Regions from separate parts of the Homo sapiens genome. Here region 1 is linked to region 2. The links are contacts of gene promoters, found by promoter capture Hi-C in human tissues and cell types (Jung and others, 2019). All regions are on one chromosome and are shown on one strand. The core of a region is centred on a gene start or on the middle of the fragment in contact, and the rest is flanking DNA. Distances in the headings are between cores, read along the strand shown.

The links. The method cuts DNA at HindIII sites, captures the fragments that hold promoters and counts their contacts. A contact is called where the count stands out against the background at its distance.
Region 1: a fragment that was not itself captured here is called in contact with the fragment with the promoter of COLQ in region 2 in 1 of the 25 tissues and cell types used here (psoas muscle).

Annotation. Positions count from the first base shown.
Region 1 is chr3:15,563,864-15,570,313 of GRCh38, reverse strand. It overlaps HACL1 (2-hydroxyacyl-CoA lyase 1), which reads left to right. Exons shown (of 17, transcript NM_012260.4): 13 at 1,728-1,882; 14 at 2,312-2,470; 15 at 5,656-5,763. Among named protein-coding and RNA genes, the nearest start is that of HACL1, 34 kb to the left of the region's middle. The HindIII fragment of the contact is 3,486 bases long and covers 3,453-6,450 here.
Region 2 is chr3:15,519,746-15,525,647 of GRCh38, reverse strand. COLQ (collagen like tail subunit of asymmetric acetylcholinesterase) reads left to right here and starts at 3,942. Exons shown (of 17, transcript NM_005677.4): 1 at 3,942-4,128. The coding sequence starts at 4,023. The HindIII fragment of the contact is 5,771 bases long and covers 499-5,902 here.

The DNA of each region.
Region 1 (6,450 bases), core at 3,946-6,445, 43 kb before region 2:
TAGAGGGCTGGAGTGCAATGGCGTGATCTTGGCTCACTGCAACCTCTGCCTCGCAGGTTTAAGCAATTCTCCTGCATCAGCCTCCCAAGTAGCTGGGACTACAGACGTGTGCCACCACGCCCAGCTAATTTTTGTATTTTTGGTAGAGATGGAGTTTCACCATGTTGGCCAGGATGGTCTTGATCTCTTGACCTCGTGATCCGCCCGCCTTGGCCTCCCAAAGTGCTGGGATTACAGGCATGAGCCACCGTGCCTGGCCTACATTAGAATTTTAATCAATGACTGTTTCTATCTGGAGCCAGTCTCAATTTTTTTTTTTTTTTGAGATGGAGTTTCACTCTTGTTGCCCAGGCTGGAGTGCAGTGGCGCGATCTCAGCTCACTGCAACCTCTGCCTTCCAGTTTCAAGCAATTCTCCTGCCTCAGCCTCCCGAGTAGCTGGGATTACAGGTAGCTGGCACCATGCCTGGCTACTTTTTTTTTTTTTCTTTTTTGAGATGGAGTCTTGCTTTTGTTGCCCAGGCTGGAGTGCAATGACACGAGCTTGGCTCACCGCAACCTCCGCCTCCTGGGTTCATGCAATTCTCCTGCCTCAGCATCCCGAGTAGCTGGATTACAGGCATGTGCCACCATGCCTGACTAATTTTGTATTTTTAATAGAGACAGAGCTTCTCCATGTTGGTCAGGCTGGTCTCGAACTCCCGACCTCAGGTGACCTGCCCACCTCGGCCTCCCAAAGTGCTGGGATTACAGGCGTGAGCCACCGCACCCAGCCAATTTTTGTATTTTTTTTAGTAGAGACAGGATTTCACCATGTTGGCCAGGATGATCTCGAACTCCTAACCTCGTGATCCGCCCGCCTTGGCCTCCCAAAGTGCTGGGATTACAGGCGTGAGCTACCATGCCTGGCCACCAGTCTCAATTTTATTTCCTGAGTCATATCATGACTAATCTTTTCTTTCGCATAGGAACGATGTTGGTTTAAGATAGAAGGGACTTGCTTCTCTTCTTTAGTGCAGGAGTATAGGAGGGTCCCTCTTTACCTTGTGTATAATCTCCAGCAGAACAAAGTAGCATAGGTGAAGAGGCAGTCCTGGGGCCAGATGGGACTGTTGCTGCTAAAGCTCTCTATGGCTTTTTCTCAGCCCTGAAAGGCATGTGGCTAGACAAAGGCGTTTACCTTGCTGTTTTTCTCTCCATTCAGGGACTCTTTAGAATAGTGGGGGTAAGATAGCTCCTTTAACTCTTAAGTGTGTTGGGGGAAAAACTAGATTTTCAGATTGTATTCTAAAATTGTGACATTTTAAGTTTAGGGTCATAGTTCAGATGAAAATATTCTGGAATAAATTTCACTTTTTCTAAGGCACCGTTTTCCTAAGAGTGCTCAAATAAGAACGTTTAGTTTTATGTAACCCAGTGCTTCTCAGCTGTCTTTACTGTAGGACTTCTCAATGTCTTTAATACACTCCTGTGCATTGCAGATCTCCAAGAGGCGGGATATTCCCGAGCTTATTTAATTGTGTTCCCAACTGGGACTGTGGTACACATGTCCCCCAGGGCTGTTCACAGGTCAGCCAACTTCTCAGAGTGGCCATTTTATAGCCATTTGGAAACCTTGTAGCTTGTAGTTGTTGCGTATTTCCAAATAAGTTTGATAGCATCTTATTAACATTGGTTATTTTCATTGTATCCCAATTTAATTTGATTATATTCCCATCTACTTTTCAGGAACTAGCTTCTAAAAAATCCCTGCCTATGAATTATTACACAGTATTCTACCATGTTCAAGAACAACTACCTAGAGACTGTTTCGTGGTAAGTGAAGGAGCAAATACTATGGACATTGGACGGACTGTGCTTCAGAACTACCTTCCTCGTCACAGGTAAGACTTCTAAAGAAGAAAGAAGTCGTAATTCATTATAATGTGTTTAATATGAAACTGTAATAGTGCAGATTAAGAAGACGTTTGAGAATTAATACATGTTTAGTATGTAAGGACATATTTCATAAAAGTATCCTTAGGTGAGGTTTTGTAGAGTTTTTATGCTTGATGTGTTCTTGGTATCATGATAATTGTTTACTTAGTATTCTAGGAATATGTTTATAGTCTTCCAAGCAAACATGGGTGGCTTTTTTCTATCCTTGACAAATTAGTTCCTAGCAGTCTAAAGATTTTATATTGAAGAAAGAGAATGTTTTTATGGTTCTTCATTTTTCCATCAACCATGTAAATATGACTAGAAGGTTTGTGCCAATCCCATCCTCTATGACATGCCCCAGAGGGTTTCATTTTAACTTTGTTCTCCAACAGGCTTGATGCTGGTACTTTCGGAACAATGGGAGTTGGTTTGGGATTTGCTATTGCAGCTGCCGTGGTGGCTAAAGATAGAAGCCCTGGGCAATGGATCATCTGTGTGGAAGGAGACAGTGCATTTGGGTTTTCTGGCATGGAGGTAGAAACCATCTGCAGGTAAAACATCATCCTGAATCAGAGCATTTGATTCTCTAGAATATGAAAAATGACACACAAGACCCAGTCACCTGACAAATACTTATGAAGCGTTCACCAGGTGCCCTGTGCACAGCACTGTGTTCTGTCCTGAGGATGCTAGTGGCAGTAACCCACGGTCTTTCTCTTCCAGAACCGTATCTTTCTGGCCTCCTCACTGTATGGTAAAAACCTGTAAAACTGTGGGGAGTGGTTTTGAGGTCACTGAGAAAAAAATGTTGGGGACTGAAAGAAGCTTGTTTCCTGTGGGAAATAGCAAGTGTGGTGGTTGAAGAGCATGGCTTCTGCCAGTCATGGTGGCTCACACCTGTAATCCCAGCCCTTTGGGAGGCCAAGGCAGGCAGATCACTTTAGGTCAGGAGTTCAAGACCAGCCTGGCCAAAATGGTGAAATCCCATCTCTACTAAATATACAAAAAAAAAAAAAAATTAGCCAGACGCAGTGATGCATGCCTGTAATCCCAGCTACTCGGGAGGCTGAAGCAGAAGAGTTGCTTGAACTGGGAAGTGGAGGTTGCAGTGAGCTGAAATCGCACCACTGCACTCTAGCCTGGGTGACAGAGCGAGACTCCATCTCAAAAAAAAAAAAAAAAAAAAAAGGCAGCATGGCTTGTGGGACAAATGGCCTGGATTTAAATACTGGTTCTATCAAGTCAGAGCCATGTGACTTTAAGTCACTTAACCAAGGCTGGGCGTGGTAGCTCATGCCCGTAATCCCAACACTTTGGGTGGCTGAGGTGGGCAGATCACCTGAGGTCAGGAGTTAGAGACCAGTCTGGCCAGCATGGTAAAACCCCATCTCTACTAAAAATACAAAAAATAGCCAGATGTGGTGGTGCATGCCTATAGTCCCAGCTATTTGGGAGGCTGAAGGCAGGAGAATCGCTTGAACCTGGGAGGTGTAGTTTGCAGTGAGCCAAGATCGCACCACTGCACTCTAGCCTGGGCGACAGAGCAAGACTCCATCGCAAAAAAAAAAAAAAAAAAAAAGTCACTTAACCAAGCCTCAGTCTCCTCTCTTCTAAAGCAGGAATAGTATCCTTTAGGCAGAAATTCCTTGAAAAAAAAAAAGTAGGAATAGTAATAGTTCCTACCTTAGAAAGATGATTATGAAAAACAAATGAGGTAATCCAAGCAGTTTTTTTTTTTCAAGATGGGGTCTTGCTTTGTCACCCAGACTGGAGTGGAATGGCGCAACTGCGGCTCACCGCAGCGTCAACCACCCAAGTTCAACGGATCCTGCCTCCTTAGCCTTCTGAGTAGCTGGGATCACAGGCATGCACCACCATGCCCAGCTAATTTTTTGTATTTTTTTGTAGAGACAGGGCTTTGCCATATTGGCCACACTGGTCTCAAATTTCTAAGCTCAAGCAATCCACCCGCCTTGGCCTCTCTAAGTGCTAGAATTACAGGTGTGAGCCACCATGCTTGGCCCCAGCTAAATTCTGAGGTGATGCTCAGTGAACATGAGTCATTTGGATCATGTGTGTAGTTATGAGAATTCATGGAGAAACTCATGAATTGTAGATCCTCACTATAGAAGGATGGGGGTTTTATTTTTCCAGCTATATTTAAACTGTAGTAAAACCATTCTATTCTTAGCCAGGGCTCTTATTAGGGCTTTTGTGAATCATGTTTTGGGGTTGGCAAAGCTTTGGTAGATAAAACGTTCAAGATTTGGGAAGGTATAGTTGTCCCTCTATATCAGTGGGGGATTGGTTCCAGGACCTTCCTCAAATACCAAAATCCAAGGATGCTCAAGTAAGTCCCTGATATAAAATTGTGCAGTATTTGCAAATAACCTATGCATACCCCCCATATATTTTTAATGATGTCTAGATTACTTTAAAATACTGAATACAATATGAATGCTATATAAATAATTGTTGTGCTGTATTGCTTAGGGAATAATGACAAGAACAAAGTCTGTGCATGTTGAGTACAGATCCAATTTTTTTTCCCAAATATTTTTGACCCGCAATTGGTTAAATCCACGGATGCAGAACTCAGATAATGAGGTCTGACTGTATGTGTCTGTTAGAGTGTCTTTATTGACAACCAAGTGATATACACAAAAAAGATGACTTATGGGGAAGTTAGCCTTTTAGTGGATAATGACTCCTTTTGAGCATGGAGAGCAAATAATTACCACAGTCCTGTTATTTAACAGTATGCAGTTTAGTTTTGTTTTTACCACTTGCCCTTGGAAATTATGTTAGAAAATAAAACCTACATTCTTTTCAGTCAATAACATTTAATCAACCTTTTCTTTTTTGTCTTTGCTATACTGTTTAGCACACTGTTAAATACTCCTTTTCTGTACTGACTACACCATGTAATGTGTTTCTGATTATGTGTGTGGTAGTTTGAGTGCAGATTGTGTGTGCTAGTTACTTGTGTATCTTCCACAGCATCTAGCAAGAGCTGGGTGTCTGTGGGGAGCTCAGTAAATAGAAAGGTACGTTTCAAACACTGTTCCTAGGAACCAACTAGAAGTGGTACTTTAGAGAGTATTAAATAGGGAAGGTGTTCTTCATATACCATCTAGACTTATGAAAACCCAGATTCAGAAAAGCTCAGTGATTTGTCTGAGGTTCATAGCTAATAGCTAAAGGACTATCAACTTTTTTTTTTTTTTTCTGAGATGGAGTCTTGCTCTGTTACCCAGGCTGGAGTGCAGTGGTGTGATCTCTGCTCACTGCAACCTCCGCCTCCCGGGTTCAAGCGATTCTTCTGCCTCAGCCTCCCGAGTAGCTGGGACTACAGGCACATGCCACCATGCACAGCTAATTTTTGTATTTTTAGTAGAGACGGGGTTTCACCATATTGGCCAGGCTTGTCTTGAACTCCTGACCTTGTGATCCGCCCACCTCAGCCTCCCAAAGTGCTGGGATTACAGGCATGAGCCATCATGCCCAGCCAGGACTAACAACTCTTAATCTTGCATTCTTTCTGCCTTTCCATGATGTTTCTGTTAATTATTTGATATTCTTTCTTAGGATAATAAATGCTTGATTTTTAGTCTTCCTCTAATAATACAAAAAGCTTATAGGAAACTATTCATTTTTAAGTTAAAGTTTCAACCCAAAGAAAAGAAATTACTTTAAAATGAAGAATGATTTCCTTCATATTTTACTCTCACTTTAGGTACAACTTGCCAATCATACTGTTGGTAGTGAATAACAATGGAATTTACCAAGGTTTTGATACAGATACTTGGAAAGAAATGTTAAAATTTCAAGATGCTACTGCAGTGTAAGTAACCAAGACCAATGTCTGTTTACTTTCTCTTTCCCGTTTTAATCTCTTTTTAAAAAGTCTTCTATATTGGCAGTAATGTGCCTACATGGTATGAGTATTGTCCGTTTCGATTGTCAGCCCTTCTAAAGAGAAGGAATCCTGTCTTAGTTCCTCTTTGCACAAATATCCATGATTAGGTGCTTCAGTAAATAATCAGGGAGCCACTGAAGACTCAGATAAATGAGTGTGATGTCTGAGCCTTGTTAATGAAAAGGCTTATTGCAAAATGCTCCCTGGACTGGGAGCAATAGTAGGACTACTGATTCCTGTTACACCATTTGGAAATGTGGATGTTTACGTATTATTTGTGTTCCAGAGGTCTACCTTCCTTTCACCACTTAGCTAAATCTTGATCATCTGATGGCAGAGCCAGATTAAGACAGTATTGTAGCTGGCCGTAGAATGTGAGACAGATATGAATTTGTGAGCCAGCCTTGGGGTGGAACAGGGTATGGGTGTGTCTATTTATGCCTCACTAACTTTATTTGTTGTTTTCTTATTATTTGTTGTTTTGCAGTAATCTTTTTTTTTCATGTTTTTCTTCTGGATTCATAATAGTTGATAATGTAGCCTGTGCTGTCTAGTATAGTAGCCACTAGGCATGCTGCAACTGTTGCAAATTAGATTTAAATTACTTCAAAT
Region 2 (5,902 bases), core at 2,693-5,192:
AGCTAGTTCTGTTTTTTGTTTTTTGTTTTTTGTTTTTTTTTCATAGATACAGGGTTTTGCCATGTTGTCCAGGCTGTGTCCATTTCTTTATTTCATTTCAGTTTTTTTTTTTTGAAACAGAGTCTTGCTCTGTTGCCCAGGGTGGAGGGCAGTGGTGTGAGCCCAGCTCACTGCAACCTCTGCTTCCCAGGTTCAAGCAATTCTTGTGCCTCAGCCTCCTGAGTACCTGGGATTACTGGTGTGTGCCACCACACCCAGCTAATTTTTGTATTTTGTGTTGAGATGGGGTTTCACCATGTTGGCCAGGCTGGTCTCAAACTCCTGGCCTCAGGTAATCCACCCACCTTGGCTTCCCAGGGTGCTGAGATTACAGGTGTGAGCCATGTCTGGCCTGCCATTTCTTTTAATTAAGTTTTTTATCTTATTATTATTGAGCTGTGAAAGTTTTAATATATTCTAGCTACAAATCATTTATCATATATGTGTTTGGCAAATATTACGTCCTAGTTTTTGGCTTGGCTTTCCAATTTAGTATTCTATTTTGAAGAGCAGAAGCATTAAAGTTTTTATAATGTCCAATTTAACTTTTTTAAATTTAAGATTTGTATTTTGCATCTTATTTAAAAAATCTGTACCTAACCCAGGGTCACTAAGATTTTCTCCTGTTTTCTGCCGTAAGTTTAATATTTTAGCATTTACAATTAGGTCTGTGGTCTATTTTAAAATAATTTGTATGCATGGGGCAAGGTAAGGGTTAATCTTTATTTTTATTTGTTTGTTTTGCATATGGAAGTCAAATTTTTCCAGCACCATTTGTTGCAAAGACTGCCTTATTCTTTCTAGTCACTGCATAACATTTTGAATGGATGTCCCAGGATTTATTCCACCAATGTTTCATTCATGGACAGTTAGGCTGTTTCCAACTTGAGGCAACAATGCACACCCTTGCACCTAAACCACTGGGTAGTGAATGAGTATTTCTGAGAACTTCTGGGTCAGACGGCATGTGCATTTTAAGTTTAATGGGGCCAAAAGATTGTTTTCCAGTGTACAGTCCTGCCTACAAGGTCTGAGAGGGAAGACTCTGACTTTGAATGGCTTTATTGGTGTGAGCTTTTCTCAAATCTCAAATAGTTTCCTTCTGGACAAATCTAATAGTCTATGTTATTAGATTCTGGAAACATCAGAGCCCTTCCAGGAGGATTTGAAGAAAGATGATAATTTCTGTCTTGGTCAGTTAGGGTAATCTTATAAGAAATAGGTTCATAAAATATAAGATACCTAAGGAAATGGAAATTTACTAAAAATTGTTTAATAAGTATTGGGGCCTTATAAATAACTCTGTGTTGGGGCCTCCTCAAAGGGTAGAGGCTCCTGTCGTAACTTTAGATCAGCAGTGACTCATTCTCCAGTGACTTGAATTATAAATTTAGCCTCTCTGTCTGCGGGTCCTAATTCAAGGTGGCCATCCATAGTCCCTCTCACACTCTCACCATACTCACCAAAGCCCTCCCTTGTATCAGGCGCAGGCCACCCAGCTGTATGTGCAGAGGCTCCAAGGGGTGCTGGGGAAATGCAAGTTGTGCAGAAAGCTGGAGCATAAAGTTATGCTACTTTTGTACGTTCTTCTTTTTTCATCCTACCCAGTGGTGTGATTTGATCAAAGTAACTTACATTGTTGAGGATCTGTTAGGTGACAAGGACTGTCCTGGGGGCCTTGAGAGTACATAGAGCTGTGGGATAGTCCCCTATCTTTAGGGATGTTAATGCCAGCTAAATAGCAACACAAGGTGGTGTTCAAAAACAATAGCAGCAGGTGTCACCGGTAGGACGTATTGACAGAATTTGTTCCAAGGGTATGGTCAGTGGTGAATTCTTTGTGCTGAGAGAAGGAAGAAGTCATACTGGCTTTGCAGAGGAGGAATCTGAGCTAGATAGTAAAAATTCATATTCTGACACCAAGTTACTCAAAAGATACCTTCCTCCCAGGTAGACTGTACCTTCTCCAAGCCACTGGAAGCTGGCTGCTGGGGCTCCAGGAGTTAACAAGAGTGAGCCTGAGAATGTCCTGATTGAGTTTGGCCAGCAATCACAGCTCCTTCTTGTAAAAATTTTGGGAGCAGCTAAATGGGGGTACCCTCTCTTTAATCTGTCCTATAAATTTTGAATGTAGTTCAGGTATATTTTTCATGCTTTCAAAAGCTTTCCTTATCAACTCTGTATCAGTTAGCTATTGCTGATGAGCAAGTCATCCTAAAACTTACTGGTTTGAAACAATAGCCGTTTTATTTGCTCATGACTTCGTAATCTGGGCTGGGCAGTTCTTTCGAGGGTCTCACTTGGGGTCACTCCTGTGGCTGGCATCATCTGAGACCAGGACAGGGCTAGATGTTCCAAAATGGCCTCACTCGCCTGTTGATGCTGCATCTGGGATAGTCAGAACAGCTGGAGGCTGGCTGCTTCCCCCTCCATGTGGCCTCTTCAATAGTCCAGACTTTTTAAAGTGGCAGCTGATTTTCAAGAAAAGGCAAAAGCAGGAGCTGCCAGGCCTTTTAAGGCCTAGGCCAGGAGATGGCACAGTGTCCCTTTAGCCACATTCTATTGGTCAAAGTAAGTCACAGAGCCACCTCAGATTTAAGGGAGGGGAACTAGCCCTGCTTTTTGCTGGGAAGAGTGTCATGCACACACTGGGTTGGGAGGACTTTTGGAGGCCATCTTTGCACCCAGGCTACCATGGCTCCCTTGGGTCTCCTTTGTGCTGTTCCTATGTGCAAGTTCTAATCCGTGTAGGATTCATCCCCATTACCTCACTTAACTTTCCAACAAACCTTTAAAGGGAACATTGTCTCCATTGTATGGATGAGAAAACTGAGGCTTAGAGAGGTGAGCTTGTCCACTGCCACTCAGAGCTGAGAGTCAAGCCCAAGTGTGGTGCTACAGCTGTAAAATATCACTTTATACCACGCCCTGACCCAACTCCACCTTCCCCATAATGAGCACAGGGGCAGGATGCCCACCCCAGCATCCAGTAACTAGCAGACTGTTTCTGAGTTAACTCCTATGAGGCATGTAATATGTAAATTAAAGCAAAATGAACAACTCTGTGAATTATTATTTTGTTTTAGTCATCTAATCATCTCTATAACAGGCTTTTATAAACTCATAAAAGGTATTAAGAATGTGATAATTTTTATTTGAATAATTTTGTCTAGCCAAAGATTAAGTTAGTGATGTTATTTTTCTGAATATAGTTTGATAAAAATCATTCACTTTTCTATACTTTTACTGTTTTCATTTATTTTGCCTTGCATTGAATCAAAAGGTTGCAGCTTTTGGAGAGAGAAACACTTTTTCACAGAGAAAGCTGTTTGGAAATATAAACTACTTCCTTCCTCCTTTTTATTGGATGATTAAAGAAAAAAATTAAAAGTTAACTTTACATTTGTTACACAATGGGTAAAAATGTCACAGGCTGACAGTGGAGGGGTTTTTCTCCATGAAATTCAGTTTGAATCAGGAGAGTTGTTTCTGCCCAGTTCCAAGGAGGTAGATGGTGGCACATAACCAATTAGGAATCTCTCTGCCCTTGAGGACTGCCTCCAGTGAACATCTGAGACTTGGCTGCCTTCTCATCACCTCTTCACTAGCCACTTACCTCAGTCTCCAAAAAAGAAAATTTTGACATCTTAATTTTAATGTGGGCATTTGATATGGAGCTTGAGATAAATATAACTCTCTGTAGCATGGAGACAGTTTAATGGGAAATGGTTGGCATTCTTTCTTGGTAAAGGCATGGGAGACAGGAGAGGTGGGGGAGGGAGAGAGAGGGAGGGGGTGAGGAGGAGGGAGAGGGAAAGAGAAAGAGGGAAAGACACACACACACACAGACACACACACACACGCACACACACACACACAAACACACGCGCACGCAAACAGCAGTGAGGAAGAGAAAAGCAGAGATAAGCAAGGCTCCGCAGCAGCCTCCTTTCTAACTTGACCCTCGCCAGACCCTGGCCAGCATGGTTGTCCTGAATCCAATGACTTTGGGAATTTATCTTCAGCTTTTCTTCCTCTCTATCGTGTCTCAGCCGACTTTCATCAACAGCGTTCTTCCAATCTCAGCAGGTAAATGATGGCCACAACTTTCCTCTCTTCCATCTGTCAGGGGACAGGGGGAGGAAGGAAGATTGTTTTGCAATGTGTCCTGATGTTTTTGCCATTCAACTGTTGGTGGAGGGAGGTTGGAAGGAAGACGGCCACCCCAGCAGCTTCCTGTCACCCGAGCTTGTCTCGGAAGCCCCTTCTGTCCTTGTTCCAACCGGCTCCTACCTGGCTGCTCAAAGCAGAGACACTTTGAAAAATGGTTTCTGCCTCCCCTATTCTCCCCATTTGCTGCATGATTTCATCTTGGTCAGGAATTTGGGAGAGCTTAAAAGAGACAGAGGTGTGCAAGTAATAGAGAAGTGAGTCTCAGATGTTTCTATAAATACATCTCTGACCTCTTCGAAGGGGGCTTGCCTCACAGGGGCTGTTGTGGAGTAAACAAACCTCTTTCCAGACCCAGATAGCATCCATGGCCACAATAGTCCCTCGAAGGGAAAATGCAGGTGGCAGGGGCCGGTGGGGTGGGGGGTGAACAGCGGCGGGGCAGTTGCAGCCTCAGGACTAGGTTTTCCCTTTCTCCAGACCTGTCTTCCTGGGTGCGACTTCCCTTCAGCCTCAGACAAGGCAGCTGGAGGTCCTGAGAGAAGTGAGCTTTCCAGGGAGAAGTGGAGGGGGTTCCACAGTGACAGCCAGGTCTGGAGCTGAGTGTGTCTGCCGGGTATGAGGCTGGGAGATTTGGGGAAGGGGCTGTGTCTGCCAGCCTGCAACCTTTTCTGAGGTCAGCAGCCTGTTGCCCTTGTCTTGTCTGACCCAGAGCAGGGGAAGTATTCGGTTACTAGTATGGCCTATTTAAACCTTTCTGAGGAAACTCAAATGTTTCCGGAGGGCTTGAAGGAGGCAGGCAGACCCTCACAGCCCCCCTCAATTCACCTCAGTGACCCCTGACTCTCCCCAGCAAAGTTTTAGTTATGCCTCCAACATGAGTCTCATAAATACTTCAACTGAGACAGAAATTTCACTATCGCTGCCTTTGCTGGAAACACAGGGAGGGCCAGAAATGCCAGGCTCTCAGAGAGGGCACATCTCTGAATCCAGCTCCCAACTGCTGTCCATTGATAAAAACAGCTCATCAGCAAGTTGTGTAGCCAACGTTTGTGGGCCATGAGGGAGTGACTCAGAGACTGGTGTGAGGCTAATTATAAAAGTGTGAGAAACAGAAGGAGGTGGGGGCAGATTTGTGGAGAATTCAGGAGGGTGGGCAGGAAAGGTGAGTGGTGGTGTCACCGTGGGTGTGTGCCCACATGCCCCTGCAAATTCAAGTTAAGAGCATCAAGCTTCTTCTAGGAGTGAGTAGTCATTATTCATTCCCCAGTTCAAGGGAGAAGCTTGAGAGTTAATTTGGCCTAATTTGGTGGTTCTTAATCATGTTTGGGTCATGGATTCCTTTGAGAATCTGCTGAAGGTTAGGACTTAAGGAAACTCAGTTTTCTGGTTCTAGCCCTGCCTCTGATGAGCTCCCTGACTTCTGAGAGACAGTGGCCTTACACTATAAGCACCATGTGGCCAGGGCATGTGTCTCTCTTGTACTTTACTGTTTTCCCAGGGTCAGAACAGTGCCTGGCACATAGTAATCAATAAATATTTGATGAATGAATGAATAAAAGCTTCTCATCTGCAAACTGGGGTTTACCATCATTTTGTATTACTTAATTTAAATAGCACCAAAGTGGTTAAGGAGTTCAGAAAACTAGAGAGAAAAGAACCTCTGGTTTTCTTTTGAACTCTTTGCCTTGGA